Regions from separate parts of the Homo sapiens genome. Here region 1 is linked to region 2. The links are contacts of gene promoters, found by promoter capture Hi-C in blood cells and fetal thymus (Javierre and others, 2016). All regions are on one chromosome and are shown on one strand. The core of a region is centred on a gene start or on the middle of the fragment in contact, and the rest is flanking DNA. Distances in the headings are between cores, read along the strand shown. Region 1 holds the start of PCDHB1 (protocadherin beta 1). Region 2 holds the start of PCDHB16 (protocadherin beta 16).

What was found. Contacts are between HindIII fragments. The CHiCAGO score rates a contact against its expected background, and 5 or more counts as called.
Region 1: a contact is called between the fragment with the promoter of PCDHB1 here and the fragment with the promoter of PCDHB16 in region 2, in 3 of 17 cell types (M2 macrophages, neutrophils and M1 macrophages). The highest score is 6.1, in M2 macrophages.

Annotation. Positions count from the first base shown.
Region 1 is chr5:141,046,516-141,052,679 of GRCh38, reverse strand. PCDHB1 (protocadherin beta 1) reads right to left here and starts at 1,306. Exons shown (of 1, transcript NM_013340.4): 1 at 1-1,306. The coding sequence starts at 1,209. It overlaps PCDHB1-AS1 (PCDHB1 antisense RNA 1), which reads left to right. Exons shown (of 4, transcript NR_105056.2): 3 at 1,510-1,801; 4 at 6,114-6,164. It also overlaps PCDHB@. RefSeq lists an enhancer at 897-1,725. The HindIII fragment of the contact is 4,524 bases long and covers 1-4,509 here.
Region 2 is chr5:141,179,326-141,185,535 of GRCh38, reverse strand. It overlaps PCDHB16 (protocadherin beta 16), which reads right to left and starts at 3,149. Exons shown (of 1, transcript NM_020957.4): 1 at 1-3,149. The coding sequence starts at 2,976. The coding sequence ends at 646. It overlaps PCDHB8 (protocadherin beta 8), which reads right to left. Exons shown (of 1, transcript NM_019120.5): 1 at 4,997-6,210. The coding sequence ends at 5,096. It also overlaps PCDHB@. The HindIII fragment of the contact is 3,641 bases long and covers 3,010-6,210 here.

The DNA.
Region 1 (6,164 bases), core at 57-2,556, 130 kb after region 2:
TGAGTAAGAATTCCCAAATGTAGGTTTGATTACAAAGGGAAGGTCTTCTCTGAGGAAGCAGGTGACTTTTCCTCCCACTCGAATGTCCCGGTCTCTGATAGTGAAAAGGGCTACTACTGTCTGTGGTGGTGAGTCTTCAGGGAGTGGGCTGGACACAGAGGAGACCATCACTTCGGGAGGATTGTCATTCACATCCACCACTTCTACCAGGACTTTGCTGTGGGCAGAGAGGCCTCCACCATCTGTAGCTTGAATGTCAATGTCGTATGTTTCAATGGCTTCAAAATCGAGGGGTCCTCTTAGTCGAACTTCTCCATTTTGAGGGTCAATCTGAAACGTCTTGAGAATTGCTTCTGGGTTTTGAGCTAAAGAGTAAGTTATCGCTTTGTTGGTGCCCTCGTCTAGGTCCACGGCAGTCACCGTGGCCACCAAAGAGCCATTGGGGCTGTTCTCTGATACCTGGGCTCTGTACACCAGTCGCGAGAACTGGGGCACGTGGTCGTTGACATCCAGAACCACCACGTGGATGTGAGCTGTGCCAGACTTAGGCGGGGACCCGCCGTCCACCGCCGTAATTGTCAAGTTGACTTCAGGCTGCTCCTCTCGGTCCAGGGGTTTGTTCAGCACCAGCTCAGCATATTTAGGCCCGTGGCTGCAGAAGCGGGTGTGCAGGTGGAAATACCCATTGGCACTCAGGGTGTAGTTCTGGAGACCGTTAAGGCCCACGTCCAGATCCTGGGCGCTCTGCAGAGGAAAACGTGAACCCAAAGGGGTGCTCTCCGGAATCTTTAAAAGCGGCTCCTTGTTTAGGAAAACTGGGGCATTGTCATTGATATCAAATACCCTGACCTCGGCCCGGAAGGACTGCAGCGGCTCCACCAGGACTACTTCAAAGTGCAGAACACAAGGGTCGGCTTTGCCACAAAGTGACTCCCGATCCAGTTTCTCCTTCACAAACAAATCTCCCGTCTTGCGGTGGAGCCGGAAATGCATTTTGTTGCCCTCGGAAACCAGCCGCGCCCCGCGCGCAGCCAGCTTCCCTACCTCCAGTCCTAGGTCCTTAGCTACGTTGGCCACAAACGAGCCGCTCTCCATTTCCTCTGCCACTGAATAGCGGATAGTTGTCGCATCCCCCACAGATATGCACAGAAAAATGAGAAGAGATCCCACTTGCCTGTTTTGCAAAGATTTTCTGCGCGTACCCGCCATCAGTTCTCACAAGCGCGCTCTCTGCAATCAGAGCCAACTGTTGCGGATATACTTTCACTTTTCTGCAACAGGTTACTGCAACAGCTGCTCTCCGCTTCACTAGCCTCTAACTGCAGCACCACCAAAGGCTAGCCGAGCCCATTAAGCTGTTTTGCACTTGAAAGAAAATTTGCATTGAGCGACTCAACTCCCCAGTCTAGCGAATGTATTAATAGATATGTTCTCATTCCGGAGAGTTAGGTAGAGGTTGAAAGTTTGTTGCCAAAGCAACAACAGACTCACCTGTTAATTCCCTTTCAGGAAAAAAAGTCCTTGGGAATTGAGAAGCCAATGAGATTAGTCGTTCAAGCTGAAGTCATTCTATCTGCTAGCTGTCTGGAGCCACTGAAGCTGTGGGCGAACAGCAACAAGTTTAAGCTACATCTGCACACTCTGCGGTCCATCCAGAGACCAAGAAAGAAGCACAAGGATCCTGCAGAGTCTTCCGAAGCCCAAGCCAAATATATGAGGCAGGGAGCTAGAGAATGTGGAGGAAGTGGTCAGTAGGAAAAGGAATGGGAACAGACATTCTCCTTCAGAAACTTGAGGTCCAGTAAGTACACTGACAGGGGACTAAGCCAACTGACCTCTTGATTTGCACTACGCTATCATGCTACTTCTACGTATTCGCTCCGCCCCCCTCCAAATATCTGTATACACGTGCACAAAGGGAGCAGCTGGCTTGTCACTTATGATTATAATGGCAGTAGTATTTATTGGATATGATTTCCATGTACTGAGACTATGACAAGTGATTTACATGCATTATTTAATTTAATACTTGCAACAACTATATGGAGTAGACATTATTAAAAAAAAAAAAAGACAAAGAAAGTGAGATGGGAGAGGTTATGTCAAGGTCCCCTACCTAGCAAATGTTAGAAATAAAACTCAATTTAATTTTGTCTGACTCCGAAGTCTATGCTCTTAATCAGTACACTACTCTGCTTCCCAGATAATATAATGAATAAATCAAATGAAGATAAATATTTGGTTTTGGATTTTAAAGCAAATAAAATAAGATTGCTTACACATATTGAAAATGACCTAATAGAAATATAGGAGATATTTGTTGAGTTTCCTTTATGATCATAGGATAATAGAATGTTTAATAAGACATTTCAGAAAGATGAGATCCAGTCTCCTTCTCACCCACTCTCCACTTTAAAAAAAAAAAAAAACAGATGAAGAAACTAAGGCCCGAAGTGATGAAGTCACTTGCCCAATTCATACAGCTACTCATGGCAGTGTAAGAACTAGAACTTGTCTTCTGATGCTGTCTCATGCTCATTACCTAAAACATTTGATTTCTCATTTGTGCTCAATACTTTATGTCCCAGGTGCTATAAAATTATGGCCACTTAACGGAAATCTAACTATATTTTCCAATAGGAAAAAAAGAATGAAAGTAGAAAGTGTACAGAACATTAATTACATCCTGACATGAGGGAATTAATGAATCTCTCAATCTCTGTCAGTTATTTTAACACCTGGCTTAAGTGTGCATCCTTAAACAGTTTAGTTTTGCCTCTTTTGAAAACTATATATCTTACTTGAGTATGAGTAGAAATAAAACAAAACTATGTATCAAGTAAAGTGTACAGTAGGTAATCCTTTGAATTTTGTTTCTTTCCCTCATTTTTTAGCTCAATGTAAGATTGGTGTTATCTTTAGCTCTAGTTCATTTATTTCCATTACCGTATAAAATACCAATATATTGTCAATGTCCTTTAGCTAGAGACCATCAGACACACACCTGTAGTTGAACAAAGTTATATTTACTGACTTATTATAACAAGGGAAGCTGTACACCATAGAGAGTCATGGAGCATCTCAGTGAAACGGTGTTAGAAAGAACATATATTTGGTCTTGTGTTAGATGATTTGGGGGAGGTTTGAAGCAGAGTGCTCTGGATTGGATGTCATCATAAGTGGAGTTAACTCTATGATGAGTATATTGATAATTCTTATGTAGAAGGTGAGAGGAAAGGGGTGAGGCTAACTCTGTGATTGGTAAGTAAGCTGAAGTGACTAATACTAGCCAGGACAGAAAGATGTTTGGGCATTTTTGTGGATTGGACAATACTCTTTTTTGTCTGTATTTAGACACACTTATGGTGTGCTCTCATTTTCCTCTTGCTCCATCATAGTCATGGTATGGCCTTGTCTGATACTGGTGTCCTATGAAATCATTTTTTGTTCAACAGAAGATCACTATGTCCTAGCTGTGAGTGTCAGGCCAGCTCCTAGCTCTCGTGGACTGCTTTTGTCTTTTTCAGTATGAATGCAGCAAAATGCATTTACCTATTTTATTATTCTGCTGCTCATAGCATATCATTGTACGTGTCACTTTGTGCACATGTATACACATATTTTGGGGGGGAATATATACATAGAAGTAGCATTGATATCATAGGATATGTTCTTTTCAGCTTTACGTGATGTCACCAAACTGCTTTCTAAGAAGTTGTACTGGCTGGGCGTGGTGGCTCACGCCTGTAATCCCAACACTTTGAGAGGCCGAGGCAGACCAATTATGAGGTCAGGAGTTCAAGATGAGCCTGACCAACATGGTGAAACCCCGTCTCTACTGAAAATACAAAAATTAGCCAGGGATGGTTGTGCGTGCCTGTTATCCCAGCTACTCAGGAGGCTGAGGCAGGAGAATCACTTCAACCCAGGAGATGGAGGTTGCAGTGAGCAGAGATCGCGCCATTGCACTCCAGCCTGAGCCACAGAGTGAGACGCCATCCAAAAAAAAAAAAAGTTGTACTGATTTACACTCTCATCAGCAGTGCAACTTCTAGTTGCTCAAATTATTTCCAACACTTAGAATTACTAGTCTTTTAAAATTTTGACCATTCTGGTGAGTGACTGTGTTTACATTTCACTGATTAATTTGCATTTCTCATTAATTATTGATGAAGTAGACACTATTTAATATATTTGTAGTCATTGGAATATCATTTTTTGGGAAGTTTTTGTTCAGTTCTCTTGCCTTTTTTTAACATTGCATTGTTTACCTTTTTTTCTATTAATTTCTATTACTTCTTTATGTTCTATGAGTCCTGAATATATTAAAAAAGATGTTTATGCTTAGTCAATATACATAAACAGAGAATAGCCTTGAGCAATTTCGATAGAAAAAAAAAATGGAGTATACTACCCACTAATGTTATTTAGCATCATCAAAAAGGCTATTGGGGAGGTTTTTTTTAAAAGGAAATATTTATTTAGTGATTCACAAATTATGCAGAAGCTTCTGACATCCTAGGAAGTCTTAATACAATCAATTTCAAAATAATTCATCAAAAAAATTGTAAGTTAACAAATACATTCTTGGCTGGGTGTGGTGGCTCATGCTTGTGATCCTAGTACTTTAGGAGGCTGAGGCAGGAAGATCACTTGAGGCCAGGAGTTTGAGACCAGCCTGGGTAACATAGCAAGACCCTTGTCTCTACATACATACATACATAAATAAGGCATGGTGACAAAGCCTGTAGTCCCAGTTACTTGAGGGGAGAGCATTGCTTGAGGTCAGGAACTTGAGGTTACAGTGAGCTATGACTGTACCACTGCACTCCAGCCTGGGTGACAGAGTCAGTATCTGTCTCAAAACAAAAAAAATTCTTATGAGGTGAAGTTTAAGCAATGCTGCTTTTCTTTTTTTATTTTCTTTTTTTTTGTTAGTTTATTTTTAACTGACAGATAAAATTAATCATAGACAACATAGTATTTTGTAGCATATTTATATTGTAGAATGACTAAATTCAGCTAATTAACATATATATTACCTCACGTAGTTATTATTTTTGTGGTGAGAATATTTACCATCCATGTCTTGGGCATTTTTCAAGAATATGGTACATTGTTATTAACTATAGCCACCATGTTGAATAATAGATCTTTTGAACTTATTTCTCCTAACTGAAATTTTGTATCCTTTTGGCTCTCCAACCTCTCCTTCCTCATCCCAGCCCCTGGCAACCACCATTCTACTCTCTAGTTCTATGAGGTCAACTTTTTAAGATTCCACGTATAAATGAGGTCACACCATTATGAAAAACAGTATAGAAGGTCCTCAAAAAATTAAAAATAGATCTACCATAGAATCCAGCAATCCCACTACTGGGGATATTTTCAAAGGAAATGAAATCAGTATGTTGAAGAGATATCAGCACTCCCATGTTCATTGCAATATTACTCACAATAGCTGAGATATGGAATCAGCCTAAGTGCCCATCGGTGGGTAAATGAATAAAGAAAATGTAGTATATGTACATAATGGAATATTCTTCAGCCTTCACAAAGAAGGAAATCCTGCAATTTGTCACAACATGGATGAACATGAAGGACGTTATGTTAAGTGAAATAAGCCAGGCACAGAAATGCTGCTTTTCAATTCAGTTCCTCTGAATCTTAATCTGTTTGGTTAGCCCCAGGCGATTTATTAATATCTGCTAGATGGAATTAAAATCCAAAATATTTTCTTTTTCCTTGGAAAATGTTAGGACCTTTAAACATGGTGGCAGTTTTTTTTTTTTTTTTAAGCCTGTATACTTTCTGGTGAAGGTAAAATTGGGAACCCACAGACTAAATCTACAGCGTCGTAGCTTGTAAAGTCAGGATCAAAACCTACATGTTGGGAAGAGGGACAACCCACAGTTAGTAGGATATCATGAAGTTTTGGGAGAACAAAAATTCATTTCAAAACTGTATCTTAGTACTAACTTTTAAACTTCAAAAATCTTATTTCAAAATATTTCAGAGTTTTGGAAGAGTTACAAGAGTGTTTGTAATCACTTATGACTTACCCATTGGCTTACCTTAACTAAACTTTAATAAGGCTTCTCTTCTCCCCACAGGTCCCTGAACTTTAGCTGGCCCCAAAACTTGAGCAAGCTCTAAAAAGCAGA
Region 2 (6,210 bases), core at 1,900-4,399:
GGGAGGCTGAGGTGGAAGGATCCGTTGGGCCCAGGAGGCAGAGGTTGCAGTGAGCCAAGATTGTACCACTGCACTCCAGCCTGGGTGACAAGAGTAAGACCCTGTCTCAAAAAGGAAAAAAAAAAAAAGAAAGAAAAGAAAAGAAAGAAAGAAACTTTAAGAAAAGTATTATAATGAAAATTGAGCCCAACAAAAATACCAATTTTGAAAGGAAAATAGACAAAAGAAATGTAACATAGGAAATATGCCTAATACATGCAACAGGTTATTTTAATACTTGAAGTTCTAGGAAACTGAGAAGTAACATGAAAAATGGAGCAAAAAATGAATAGGAAGTAAATAAAATATAAAGACGGAAAAATTTTAAATGACATCAACTTTGAAGATAAAGTATATTTTGTTAATTGGGATTCTATATGCAACACCTCTTCGGGGTAAATATGAGGAAAAGGGAAACTGGAATTAACAATATAATTTGAACTAACAATCAGAGAAAAATACCTTATTGGTGGTGGTGAGCATGAACAATTTAATCAACAAGACAATCATAAGAAGTTAAGGAATTTATCAAATGGGTTCCTATCAATAATTAAATCCAAAGCTATTGTGAAGGGTGGAATTTTAATCTATTTCTTTCCTAGTGCCCTAAGGAGAGAAGTTGGGGATAATCGGCTTCAGGAACTTGAACTCACTTGTTTCTGAGCCTCCTGTCAGACACACCTCGTATTGGTAGCTCTGGGACAGGGTCCCGGTGCCGCTTACGTCCACCAGACGCCCTGGAAAGGGGCCCTCAGGCATCGAGCAGCGGCCCACCGAGGCCGCCCTGCTCCTCCTGCACAGCCGCACCGCCACGAACAGGAGCACCGAAAAGAGGAAGAGCGACGACACCGAGGCCAACGCCACCACCAGGTAGACAGTGAGCGAGTTGGCCTGGGTCTGGCCGGGGGCCGCCTCTGGGAGCGGCAGGAAGGGCTGGGAGAAGCCGTCCACCAGGAGCACGTGCAGCGTGGCGGTGGCCGAGCGCGGAGGCTCGCCATTGTCCTTGACCAGCACCACCAGCCTCTGCTTGGCTGCGTCGCGCTCGCTCAGCAGCCTGGCGGTGCGCACCTCGCCATTGTGCGCCCACACACCGAACAGCCCGGGCTCCGTGGCCTTGAGCAGCTGGTACGACAGCCAGGCATTCTGGCCCGAGTCGCCGTCCACCGCCACCACCTTGGTCACCAGGTAGCCCGGCTCGGCCGCCCGGGGCACCAGCTCAGTGCAGGGCGCGGAGCCGTTCTGCAGCGGGTACAGCACGAAGGGCGAGTTGTCGTTGGCGTCCAGCACCAGCACGCGCACCAGCGCCTCTCTGCTCAGCGCGGGGGAGCCGCGGTCTGTGGCGCCCACGCGGAACTCGAAAGCCTGCAGGGCCTCGTAGTCCAGCGACCTGAGGGCGAACAGGTGGCCGTTGTCCGCGTTGATGGAGACCAGGGAGGCGAGGGGCAGGTGCGGGTCTTGGGGCGGCAGCAGCGAGTAGGTGACCTGGGCGTTGGTGCCCGAGTCTCTGTCTGTGGCGCTGACGCTGCCGATGTGCAGGGCGGGGCTGTTGTTCTCGCGGACGAACAGGGTGTAGGAGGTTTGGGTGAAAGTGGGGGCGTTATCATTGACATCTGATATCTGCACTGTTATGTTGTGCTCCGTTTTCAGCCTTGGAGTCCCCATATCTGTGACGGTGAGGGTGATATTATATTCAGCTCTTGCTTCTCTGTCGAGTGCTCTCTCCGTTACCAAGGTGTAAAAGTTCTTGACTGAAGGTTTTAGAAGAAAGGGAAGGTCTTCCTGGATGGAGGAAATCGTCTTCCCATTGTTTCCGGAGTCAGGATCTGAAACGCTGAAAACAGCAACTACTATCTCAGGCGAGTTCTCTGGGATGGGGCTGGTGAGTGCAGACATGGTCACCTGTGGGGGATTGTCATTCACGTCCACCACCTGCAGGAGAAGAGTGCACTTTCCTGAAAGACCTCCCCCATCTGTGGCTTTGATGCGCACTTCATAAGACGTAACCATTTCGAAATCTACTTGCTTTCTCAGTCGAACTTCCCCTGTCATAGGATTTACCTCCAAAGTTTTACTAATATCCTCCGAAGGCTGAAAGAGTGTGTATGATATTTTTCCATTGGCTCCGCCGTCTAAATCCCTGGCGGAGACGGTGGCAACCAGGGAGCCAAGAGGACTGTTCTCTGGAATCTGCACTTTGTAGATGGGCTGCTCAAACTCAGGAGCGTTATCATTGATGTCCACCACTTCAATACGGACCTGAGCAGTTCCAGATCGCGGTGGAGAGCCACCATCCAGCGCTGTCAGGGTTAATCTTAGTTGAGGCTCCTCCTCCCGATCCAGCTCTTTATCCAACACTAGCTCAGGGTATTTCCTGCCATCTCTGAATTCATGGATTAGAACCCGGAAATGAGAGCTTGGGCTGATTTTATAGTTTTGAACATTATTGCTTCCTACGTCCAAGTCCAAAGCATGATTCAGAGGGAACTCAGTTCCTAGAGGACTGTTTTCCGGTATTTTTAGAATCATTTCCTTTTCAGTGAACATGGGAGAATGGTCATTTATATCTATCACCCTCAGTTCAGCCTGAAATATTTCTAAAGGGTTTTCCATTAACACTTGGAAATGTAGTATGCAAGGCTCAGTGGGACCGCATAGCTCCTCTCGATCTAGCTTCTCATTTATGAGCAAATCCCCAGTTTGAGCCTTGAGCTGCAAATGCTGTTTGTTCCCCTGGGAAATGATCCTGGCCTTGCGGGTGGACATCTCTGTCAACCCCAACCCCAGGTCTTTTCCTAGATTTGCCACAAAAGAGCCTCTCTCCGTTTCTTCCACTACGGAATAGGACCCCAACTCGGCGCCCGCCCCAGACAAGCTCAGCAAAACAAAGAAAACAAGGACTTGCCTTTGTCTCCGATTGTGCATCCATCCAATCTCCATTGCTTTTTCTTGAAAAGTTGGTTCACAGAAGCTTCATGTATCCCCAGGATCCTAGTAGAACTGTTTTGCAGTCCAGAATGTCAGAACCAAGCAGCCCAACGGTGTCTTAAAGAGGTTTCACACTCACGTTCGCTCTGGCTCAGCTATTCTTCTGCTTCCAGGCTTTGGGAAACGGTTTGCTGGATCCTGGAGCTGCGTAGGCAGTTGTATTTTCCGTCATCTTAACCTGCAGCGCCACCACGCGTTCTCACTGAGTCTTTTACTGTGGTTGAATATTGGAGGCAAAATACTTCTAAATGTACTGAATAGACTATGTAATACAAAACACTGAGTTCTATTTTCATGTGACTTTCGTGTATACAGATGGAGCTCTGTGATGTTGTACAGGGAGGAGTACAAAGAGAAGACTGTCATTTATGTTATTGACTGTTTAATGCTGTTGAGATTAATGATTAAATAAAATTCAATGAACATTTAACCAGACATAGAATACACACTTAGAAGCAAAATTTTTCTGAAGTAACATGAGAACAGTTTCACAAGTACATCTTTTTCATGGTACCTATATAGACACTATGAGTAGACACTGCAAAATTGCAATCAGTGGTAGTTCTAAAGAGTATTTAACAATTGCTTTATTAAAGAATAAATTACTTCCTTTTCTTTCTGACACCTAACCCTGAGAAGTGTGAGTTTTTACAACTTTCAAGTTATTGGAAAATTCATTCCCAAACAAGCAAATCTCAAGGTTGGGTCTGCTACACTTTTGGATTCCCCCCACCCTTTTTTCATTTCAATGGCTTTTAATATATTCAGAGGTGTGCATCCGCCATCACAATTTTAGAACATTTTCATCTCAAGAGAAACCTTACCTCTTTTAATTATCACCGTACCCGTTCTCCCATCCCACTTATAAACATATGTGTGTGTGTGTGTGTGTGTGTGTGTGTGTGTGTGTGTGTGTAGGTTAACTGAAAAAGACTGAAGAAAGAGAATAAGAAATTCAAGAAATGAAACTATAGGTTAACTCTACTTCCTACTTAGACTCATTTCTTTAATAATGGATATGGCACGTAGAGAAAGTACAGGACTATAAATCAGGTTAATTCGCTCATCATAAAGTTCATTTGTAGTATCTGTCCCAGCATACTTAGAGCTTTGATAAGAACATGGGTATATTTGTGCAGAGTAGTATAAACAAACTATAAACTAAAACTTATATTTTCACATGAGAGTTTAGTTCATGGAGTAGGAGTAGGAATAACATAAATTTCACTTCCTTAGTTAGAAAAACAATGCTATCAGTTAATGCCTGACCATATAGCATATTGGCTAGACTTAGATTATATTTTAAATTTTTACCTTTATTATTTCAGAATTATAAGAAAGTTAATCGTTTTTTGTGGGGGGGAATGAGGTCTCACTCTGTCACCCAGCCTGGAGTGCAATGGCACAATCTTGGCTCACTGTAGTCTCTGTCTCCTGGGCTCAGGGGATCCTCTTACCTCAGCCTCCTGAGTAGCTGGGACTACAGGTTCGCAATCACACCTGGCTAATTTTTGTATTTTTGTTAGTGTCAGTGTTTTGCCCCATTGCCCAGGCTGGTCTCGAACTACTGAGCTCAAAGGGTTCAGCTTGCCTCAGCCTCTCAAAGTGTTATGATTACAGGTGTGAGCCACAGCTCACAGCCAAGTTACCTTTCTAAGCCTCAGTTTTCTCATATTTAAAAAAGGGGATAATATGTCAACTCCCTTAGGACTTGGGGAAACATTTAAAAGGCAATAAATGTAAAACATTCTCTACACCACTTTTAACTAAATTTTACCTAGATTAGAAATCAAAAAATAAAGGCTTAAAAAGATCAGTTACATTAATTTCTTCACTTCAGATCTGTGCATTTTACTATGTACATTTTAACAAAAATTGCACTGTTAAAGAATTATGATTAGAGTCCACTGGATATACTAATGAAGAGAAGATGAGATATCATTTTTTAAAACAGTGAAAACAAGACAAATACTATGGGCAAATGTAGTGTAATTTAAAATTTATGCTAAGTTGACAGAAAACCATTCCTTTGAATTGATCATAAAAATTAAAATATATAATATGAAATCAATTACTTTAACTGAAGGCTGAAACCAAAGCCATTCCTAAAGTTAGAGTTTTGTTCCATTTCTGGCCCAAAAGAATGGCCCTGAATATTAGGTAATACTGGTTTCAGGAGCTGGAACTCATTCGTCCCTGAGCCTCCTGCCAGGCACACCTCGTACTGATAGTTCTGAGACAGGCTCCCGGTGCCCCTCACGTCCACCAGATGCCCTGGAAAGGGGCCCTCAGGCACTGAGCAGCGACCCACCGAGGCCGCCCTGCTCCTCCTACACAGCAGCACCGCCACGAACAGGAGCACCGAGAAGAGGAAGAGCGAAGACACCGAGGCCAACGCCACCACCAGGTAGACGGTGAGAGAGTCGGCCTGGCCCTGGGCTGGGGCAGCCTCCGGAAGCGGCAGGTAGGGCTGGGAGAAGCCGTCCACCAGGAGCACGTGCAGCGTGGCGGTGGCCGAGCACGGAGGCTCGCCATTGTCCTTGACCAGCACCACCAGCCTCTGCTTGGCCGCGTCGCGCTCGCTCAGCAGCCTGGCGGTGCGCACCTCGCCATTGTGCGCCCACACACCGAACAGCCCGGGCTCCGTGGCCTTGAGCAGCTGGTACGACAGCCAGGCGTTCTGGCCCGAGTCGCCGTCCACCGCCACCACCTTGGTCACCAGGTAGCCCGGCTCGGCCGCCCGGGGCACCAGCTCGGTGCAGGGCGCGGAGCCATTCTGCAGCGGGTACAGCACGAAGGGCGAGTTGTCGTTGGCGTCCAGCACCAGCACGCGCACCAGCGCCTCGCTGCTCAAAGCCGGGGAGCCGCGGTCTGAAGCGCCCACCCGGAACTCGAACGCCTGCAGGGCCTCGTAGTCCAGCGACCTGAGGGCGAACAGGTGGCCGTTGTCTGTGTTGATGGAGACCAGGGAGGCGAGGGGCAGGTGCGGATCCTGGGGCGGCAGCAGCGAGTAGGTGACCTGGGCGTTGGTGCCCGAGTCTCTGTCTGTGGCGCTGACGCTGCCGATGTGCAGGGCGGGGCTGTTGTTCTCGCGGACGAACAGGGTGTAGGAGGTTTGGGTGAAGGCGGGGGCGTTGTCATTGACGTCCGACACCAGCACGGTCATATTGAGATGTGTTGTCAGCC